2 separate regions of the Homo sapiens genome follow, and region 2 is linked to region 1. Evidence: promoter capture Hi-C in 16 types of primary human blood cells and fetal thymus (Javierre and others, 2016). All regions are on one chromosome and are shown on one strand. The core of a region is centred on a gene start or on the middle of the fragment in contact, and the rest is flanking DNA. Distances in the headings are between cores, read along the strand shown. Region 1 holds the start of NOPCHAP1 (NOP protein chaperone 1). Region 2 overlaps CHST11 (carbohydrate sulfotransferase 11).

Region 1 (4,275 bases), core at 669-3,168:
TGGGCGCAGGATATGGGAATGGCAGGCTAAAAAGGCAACATTTGGGCGAAAAATGGGGTCAGCTATTGTCACTTAGGGCCACAGTTCCATGCTTTAGAGTGGGGTTTAGCTGGGAGCCCAATAATTCTGTATCACCAGTGCCATTACATACATTTTACTCCTTTTCCTCTTTTATTCCTTATAACATCCCCATGAAGTATTATTATCCTGATTCTGCAGAGAAGGACAGACGCTCAGGGAGTGATCTGCCCAAAGTCACAGCTACTAAATGAATAATATGACACTGGATTTAATCCACTCCAGGCTGATTCTGGAGCCTCTGCACTGTCAGAAATAAGCAGAAAAGATTGGTCCAAGGTTTCTGCTGCTTCTGCTTTGAATCCTATATAAGAGGGGTCTGGGCATACTGCAGGTGGTCAATAAAGACTGTTAAAAGAACAAACAGGAAAGGAAGCAATAGAGTGAAAAGGCAACCTACAGAATGGGAGAAAATATTTGTAAATCATATATCCGATAAAGGGTTAATATCCAGAATATATAAATAACTCCTACAACTCAACAACAAAAACACAAATAACCAGATTAAAAAATGGGTAAAGGAGTTGAATAGTCATTTCTCCAAAGAAGATATATAAATGGCCAACAAGCCCATGAAAAGGTGTTCAGCATCACTAAATCATTAGAGAAATGCAAACCAAAACTTCAAGATATCACTTCACACTCACTGGGATGCTCACTGTCAAAAAGAAAGAAGCAACCAAACAGAAAAAGGAAATATTGACAAGGATGTGGAGAAATTGGAACTCTTGTGCACTGTGGGAATGTAAAATGGTGCAGCCACTATGAAAAACTATACGGAGGCTTCACAAAAACCTAAAAAGTAGAATTACCCTATTATCCAGTAATCCCATGTCTGGGTATGTATCCCAAAGCATTGAAAAGCAGGGTCTCTAAGAGATATTTGTACCACCATGTTCATTGCAGCAGCGTTCACAATGACCACGAGGTGGAAGCAACCAGCACGCCTGTTGAGAGATCAATGGTAAGAAAATGTGGTATATACATACAATGGCATATTATTCAGGCTTAAAAAAGAAGAGAATCCTGTTATGTGCTACAACATGTCTAAACCTTGAGGGTATTATTTTAAGTGAAATTAGTAACAAAAAGGCAAGTACTGTATGATTCCACCTACATAATGTATCTGAAGTAGTCAAGCTCATAGTAACAGAAAGTAGAACGATGGTAGCTGGGCATGATGGCTCACGCCTGTAATCCCAGCACTTTGGGAGGCCAAGGTGGGTGGATCTCCCGAGGTCAGGAAATCAAGATCAGCCCGGCCAACATGGTGAAAACCCGTCTCTATACAAAAATACAAAAATTAGCCGGGCGTGGTAGTGTGCACCTGTAATCTTAGCTACTTGGGAGGCTGAGGCACCAGCCTGGGCGACAGAGCAAGGCTGTTTCAAAAAGAAAGAAACAAAGAAGAAAGTAGAATGGTGGTTACCAAGGGACTGGAGTAGGGGTAAATGGGTATAAGGTTTCAGTTTTGCAAGATGAAAATGATCTAGAGGTCTGCCACCACTGAATTGTACAACTAAAAATGGTTAAGATGGTAGATTTTGTTACGTGTTTTTTCACCAATTAAAAAAAAATTTAATAAAAAAGGATAAAGAGGAGGGAAGCCTAATGTTATGCTCTTTATGCCCGAATTTGGCGAAATCGAGCCTTGCCCGCTGTTTTTTCCTATGACAGTGTCTGAACCTTTCTTTTTCCCAGGAGTAGGAATGGCCCCTGCTCCCGCGCAGCCTCCAGGCTGCACCACGCTCGCCCCGCCTCTCTCTCCGCTCCTTACTCCGCCCACCGCAGTTTCCTCCAATCGCGGCCCTCTCCCCGCCCCCTTACCCGAGCCTTTTTCCTGCATCCGGGCCTGAGAGTGCAGGCTTGAGGGAAGCATGGAGGTCCATGGCAAGCCCAAGGCTAGCCCGAGTTGTTCGTCGCCCACCCGGGATTCCTCAGGAGTCCCAGTGTCCAAGGAGCTGCTGACGGCGGGAAGCGACGGCCGCGGAGGTGACGGACGGGTGACGGCGGCATGGGCCGCACACGTGCGGCAGAGGAGGCGCGGCCGGTGCAGTTTGGGAGCCGGCCGGTGGCTCCCTGCCCGGGCTCCGTACCCTCGAGGGGAGCCCCGGGGACTGCTGCGGGGCTCCGGCGTGCCCTGCCCGCGGCAGGGGTGGGGGCTTTGGGGCGGGCACCCGGCTGCGGGCCCGGAATGGTTTCCCCAGCTAGTGGTTCTTATATTCTGCAAGGTAGTGAGCGCCCACCCTGCCAGGCGCCGCTGCCAGGCATCTGCCCTGCCCTGGAAGCTGGGAAGCTCTCGAGTTCTTTTGGGGAAGGGAGGGCTTTTGGTTTGGCTGCCTGGGTCGGAGCAGTTGGCTGATAGGGGGAAGCGGAGTAATATTATGCTAACAGTCCCTACCTCTTTCACACCCACACAGACCACCCCTTAGTGCTGCTGTCTTGTAGAGGGAGACATGCATCCAGGAAATCCACACAGCATTTCAGACACTATAGGTAGAATTTAAAAGCACGAGTTCGAATCCCAGCTCCACTAGTAATTAACTGGTGGGACTTAGAGTTATTTTCATTCCCTAAGCCTCAGTTTTTGCATTTGGAAAATGGTGATAGTAGTAATGCCTGTAGAATTTTTGTGAGGAGGAGAATGCCTAAAAAGGCTTGGGCATGTTGTCAGTAAATACTAGCTTGAAGAAAAGGTTTTGTGAGAACCCAGAGATTCCGAAGGAAGTATAATAATGATAACCAAAGCTTATGTAGTCCTTACTATGTATGCCCCAGAAACTAACTCATCTAATCCTCACAACAACCCTTTGCAGAAAATCTGTTATCTCTGTTTTATAGTTGAGGAACCTGAGACATGATTTATCATACAGGTAATTTACCTTCTGGAGATCATGTGGCTAGAAAGTAGCAAAACTGGGACTTGAATTCAAGTAGTCTGGCTCCAGACTCTGTGCTCTGATCACGAATCCAGTAGGCCTTAAGTAGTAGGCATTCAATGGATGTTTGTTGCGGCTCTGCTTTGCAGGTGAACAGGATTTGTTTTTTAACCAGAGAGTTAAGGGATTTTCCGGGTATTAGAAATAGGGTGTGCAAAGCCTTGAGTTTTGTACGTTCCCCTCTTGGAACTCTGATGGGATAGAGAGTTGGGATGATTTGAGTAGTGAGAAATGAGGCTGGAAAGGTAGAGTGGGTGACAAAATCCCCAAAAGGCTGCTTTCCTTGGGTTGAACGTCTTCAGGGAAGGGGAAATACCAGGCAAGCATGTTTTACTAATGAAGAAACAAATGCTTGAAGATCAGGTAAGTTGCCCAGTGTTACACAACTAGTAACCATTTCTGGCTTCACTTAACCATTGTTATGCTCTGTACTGTTTCCTCCGTTCTGTCATTGCAGACCCACGTTTGTCTGCTAATGAATTTCTGATCCAGAAAAGTGCAGATTGGTGTGCATTTATTACCTGCCATTGGTGATAGAGGTGAATGAGACAGATGTAAGAAAGGAGAGGTGGCTGGCTGTACATAAAGAATTAAAATGTTGTAATGGAGCTTGGAGTTCTCCTTTAAAAAAAAAATTTTGGGGGAGTGTGGACAGTCAAGTCTTAAGACTGGTCATGTGAGAGGCTTACTGATGGGCCTTTGTTTTTTTATGCTGTAGTAAATTAAGGGTGTTTGTGTGTCTGTATTTTCAGGTATATGGGACAGGTTGCTCATCAACTCCCAACCTAAGTCCAGAAAGACCTCCACTCTTCAAACAGTTCGGATAGAGAGGAGTCCCTGTAAGTACCTCTTCCCCTCTCTCACCCTCTCTAATGCTGAGTTTTGTCTGATTAAGCTGTGGGACGGTCTCTGCCTTCATTGTCAGGTATCAAACCACAGATAGTCCAGTGGAACAAGTCCTACTTGGGATTTACATGATAAAGTCAGTACACAGAATGGAACTTCTTACATTATTTCTCTACTTTAAGAGGGTAACTTTTTCGTGAAAAATTGCTTGTGGGTTGAATTTTGGGAAGTCAAAAACAATTGTTAATCTCCATGGCAAATTTATTTAGAGGTTACTGAGCCTCAAACTTAATATATATGGATGGAAAACCACAACCACATCCCATTGAATTGGACACAATTATTTAAATGATAAATATTACTTAGAATACAGCATAATGGCCAGTTCTCTTTATTATTCTGTAGTATTGCT
Region 2 (4,275 bases), core at 680-3,179, 330 kb before region 1:
GTCATCTCCTATGAAGCCAACTATGGCATGCTGGCAGAGCTCAGCGTGCATGCGGTGACTCTTCGTTGGCCTCTGTGGAATTTGCACCGCAGGACATTCCCAGCCCCAGACTTACTGCGACTGGTCTCACTAACGCACAAGTAGCCCCTGCCGGCTTTGCTCATGGGATGTTGGGATGTTGTCCTCAGCCAGTGAGACACAGATACACACTCACAAACCATCTTCGTGACCACAGTGGGGGGTTGCTGGTTTAAAGCCAGAGACAGTGGAGGAGAAAGGAAGACCAAATCCTTATTTTTTTTGTTGCTGTTTACTGTCTTTCTGTTCAACAAGCTTTCAATGACCCCATCTAGGTGTTAAGGCTACAGAGGTGACAGTCCCAGTTCCCTACCTCTAGTTCATACTTCAGAAGTTTCAATGTTTCTAAGATATGGTGTTCCTTACAAAGGCACAGCATGCTGGGAAAGACCTTCAGGCATCGTCTGATCAAACTTCATCCTTTTTTTTTTTTAAATTGATGAAGAAAGCGTGGCATTGGGAAATTGAGTTGCTTAAGGCCAGAAAACTTGGAAGCAATGGAGCCCAGCCTCAGCTCCGGGCTGTCAGCCCAAGCCCATGCTGCCATCCCAGTTTGTTTTTCCTGTTACCTAACAGTCAAGGGGAATCATATTTCCTGGTTTAGCAAGCATCTTCAATCCACTATTTGCATGTCTTTCTTCTCATCTCTGGGAGCGAAACAAAAAGAGTAAACCTTAAAGGTTTTCACATCCTTCACCCTAAATGACCACTTACGCACATTTTAAGTTATTGTCAGCGATTTGTGTTTTAAAATACAAGCCTTGCTATGTTTAGCTAATTCTCCTGGGTGAGAGACATGATTGATTAGAAACTTTAACAGCCGTTCATGGAGAGAAGTATAAGTCTTTCAGGATCACGCCTCTCACCCAGCCTTTGTTGGGAATGGAGAATTGATCTGGGAGCCACAGCACTTCTTTCTTCCCTGGCAGATGAAAAAAAAAACCCTCGAGATCATTTGCAGGCCAGCCCCGCTCCCATGTTTTTTCTCTGAAGAGCATGGGAGAAATAATGCATGTTCCATTTCACAGCTTGGAAAATCAGCAGTAGTTGTTTCAGATTGCTGGAATTTTGGAAGGATTTTCTCTGTACTTTTCCAAGTGCCCCATGTGTTTGAATACCCAGGTGATGGTGGCGCTGGCTACCTAGACAGCTTCTTCCACCTTCACGCTCTGGACTCCGATGGCTGGACTTGCATTCTTGAGGGTCCCCAGGCTCCAGTGTGGTGTGTCGGGAACATAGGGAGAACCTTGCTCAATAAGCATCTGTGTCTGCCTTGGCTCAAGCTGGAGCAGGGTGTCCAAGGCAGCCTGGACCCGAATAAAGACACGCTTTATTTCCCCTTCAGTTGACGGAGGGGGATTTTGAAGGTAGCAGGGGAAACAGAGTGAGCAGTGTTCAGGGACGCAGCCCACCTTCCTGGGTAGTTTTCCACTGCAACAGACCCGCCGAGGCCAGCCAGCCAAGGATACTCAGAGTTTTACAAGCATGCTGTGTGGACTGGGGCGGGGGCTGGCTTAGAGCCCCCTATGCCGCCCCCAACCTGCAGTGCCTCTTGGTGAGGAGAGGAGGCAGGATGAGCGTCTGCAATCATTGCCATGACAAAGTACCAGAGGCCGAGGGACTTAAATAGCAATTTATTTTCTCACACTTCTGGAGGCTGGGAGTCTAAGATCAAGGTGTGGTCAGGGTTGGTTTCTTCTCAGGCCATGAGAGAAGGGGCTGTCCCAGGCCTGTCTCCTTGGCTGGTAGATGCACCTTCATGTTCACACAGCAGTCTCCTTGTGTCTCTGTGCAAATTTCCCCCTCTTGTCATGATACCAGACACATTAGATTGGGACCCCACCCTAAGGACCTCATTTTCACTTGATCACCTCTGTGCAGACACTATCTCCAAATAAGGGTACTGTCTGAACGACTGGGGGTTAGTACCTCAGCATGTGCATTTTGGAGAGACACAGTTAATTCATGACAGCGTGTACCTTACATTCCATGGTGTTTATCTGGAGAGGGGGAGGTAGCCCTGGGGACCGTAACTCTGGCACTTCCTAGCGCCTTGATGATTGGCTTTTCTCCTACCTTCTGCTTCCATTCTCCTCCTCCCAGACTCTCTCATCCAATAACCCCCGCATCTGTACCCTGTTCGCTCCATAATAATGATAACTACTCCTTAGTAGTTGCTTCTTAGGTGCCAAGCAAAGTGCTAGGCATTTTATTTTTATTAACTCATGTAATCCTCATGATGACCCTTGAAATAGGCTCTATTGCCGTTCTCATTGTATAAACAAGGGAACTGAGGCACAGAGAGATTTAGTAACTTGCCCAAGGGCACGCTGCTAGTAAGTGGTGAAGCTGGGATTTGAACCCAGGCAGTCTGGCTGCAGAGGATACTTTATAAACCACTTCTACTTCACTTAATAGGCGTAATATTCCACTTGAAGCCCTTCACATCTTACCAAGGGCTCCCAAAACGTTCTCTCACTTGATCTCCATCAAAAAAGAGCACCATTGGAGGGGCTCAGAGGAATGGGTTCTAACATGTGATGTGTCTGGATCCGTGCTCAAGAACTGGGATGATGCCATGGATAAGAGCACAGCTCTGTGTTCTGCATCACAGACTCTGCATTGACTAGCTGTGTGACTTTGGGCAAGTGATGTAGCCTCTCTGTGCCTCACTTTCCTCATCTGCAAAGTGGGGTGACAGTCTCTTAGGGTTGTTTAGGGAGGATTCCTTGAGGGGCTGGCACATGATAATTGCTCAAGACATATGATCGTTGGTGATAATATTACTTCTCCGTATCTCTAAGAGCTTCCGGGGATCTCCAAGAGCCATCACTGCCCCGATCCTCCATCCCCACAGTGCAGAGCTGTGCTGCTCAGGGTGGTAGCCCTGAGCTCCAAATGGCTGCTGAGCACTTGAAATGTGGCGAGTGTGAATTGAGACATGCTGTAAGGGTTAAATACATACCATATTTTGAAGAATAAGTACCAAAAAATGTAAATGATCTCATGAATAATTTTTATATTGATTTTATGTTGAAATGAAAATGTTTTAGGTATGTTGGGTTAAATAAAGATATATTATTAACATTAATTATGGCCAGGCACAGTGGTTCATGCCTGTAATTCCAGTGCTTTGGGAGGCCAAGGCAGAAGGATTGCTTGAGGCCAGAAGTTCGAGACCAGCCTGGGCAACATAGTGAGACCCCCCCCCGCCCCCACCATCTCTACAAATAATTTTTAAAAATTAGCTGGGTATGGTGGCGTGCCCCTGTAGTCCTAGCTACTAGGGAGGCTGAGGTGGGAGGATTGCTTGAGCCCAAGAGTTTGAGGTTACAGTGAGCTATGATGGCACTGCCGCACTCCAGCCTGGGCAACAGAGTGAGACCCTGTCTCTAAAAGAAAACGAATTAATTTCATTCTTTTACTTCTTAAAATTGTGGCTATTGGAAAGCTTAAAATTAAATATGTAGCTCACATTATACTTCTATTGGACTGTACTGGGCTAGACTAGAAATGAGACGCTCCAGGGACCACATCTGTTTTGCTTATCGCTGTATCCCAGCACCTAGCCCAGATCCTGGCTTTACAGTAGATGCTCAGAAAATACTTGTTGATGCTGTTTTGATTGTACAGATGCTCTGTTCTTAGCCCCAGAAAGGTCTCCTGGGTACCACGCCAGGACCAGAGGAAAGTCTTTCGTTCCCAAAGCTCAGGGAAAGGGCTACAGGCTGGGTTTTTAGCTCACTGGGTCTCTGCGGCATTGCCATTGCCCACGGGCTTGGCGCAGGTGGGCCCCCAGCTGAATGGCTGGGTTTGATGGCAGAGCCACCGTCTTGCTCTTCAGCCCAAGGGAAAACATGGCTATGGTAGTTTCTTCTATTTTCAGCACATTAGAGAAACCAACTTTGTATGGAGGACATGAAAGCTCATTTCATAGGCCAGAGGAGGCCCGTGAAAGAGAACACTGTGTGCAAACAGCAGGAGAGAAAGACCCGAAGGAAATTTCCATCCCGGCTGAGGTCCTCTCCTGGACTTGGCTGCTCACAGGAGCCTTGTGAAGATAGAAGTGTACTCCTTCTATCCCAGGCCCTTTTTCACACCCCCTTCTTCTCAGAAGAAAATCCGAAACCCAGCTCTTGTAAAGGGGTGCGTATCTGCCATTCCTCTTTGACCTTACATTTATGAAAACTGAGTCTA

Evidence for each region. The method cuts DNA at HindIII sites, captures the fragments that hold promoters and counts their contacts. A CHiCAGO score of 5 or more calls a contact.
Region 2: a contact is called between a fragment that was not itself captured here and the fragment with the promoter of NOPCHAP1 in region 1, in 1 of 17 cell types (total B cells). The highest score is 5.5, in total B cells.

The regions. Positions count from the first base shown.
Region 1 is chr12:104,984,398-104,988,672 of GRCh38, forward strand. It overlaps NOPCHAP1 (NOP protein chaperone 1), which reads left to right and starts at 1,919. Exons shown (of 4, transcript NM_152318.3): 1 at 1,919-2,070; 2 at 3,770-3,856. The coding sequence starts at 1,956. LOC105369952 (a long non-coding RNA gene) reads right to left here and starts at 1,973. Exons shown (of 2, transcript XR_007063436.1): 1 at 1,906-1,973; 2 at 1-26. RefSeq lists enhancers at 1,573-2,085, 2,086-2,596 and a silencer at 2,149-2,398. The HindIII fragment of the contact is 4,173 bases long and covers 1-2,824 here.
Region 2 is chr12:104,656,511-104,660,785 of GRCh38, forward strand. All of the region lies in intron 2 of CHST11 (carbohydrate sulfotransferase 11), which reads left to right. Among named protein-coding and RNA genes, the nearest start is that of MIR3922, 67 kb to the left of the region's middle. The HindIII fragment of the contact is 3,196 bases long and covers 332-3,527 here.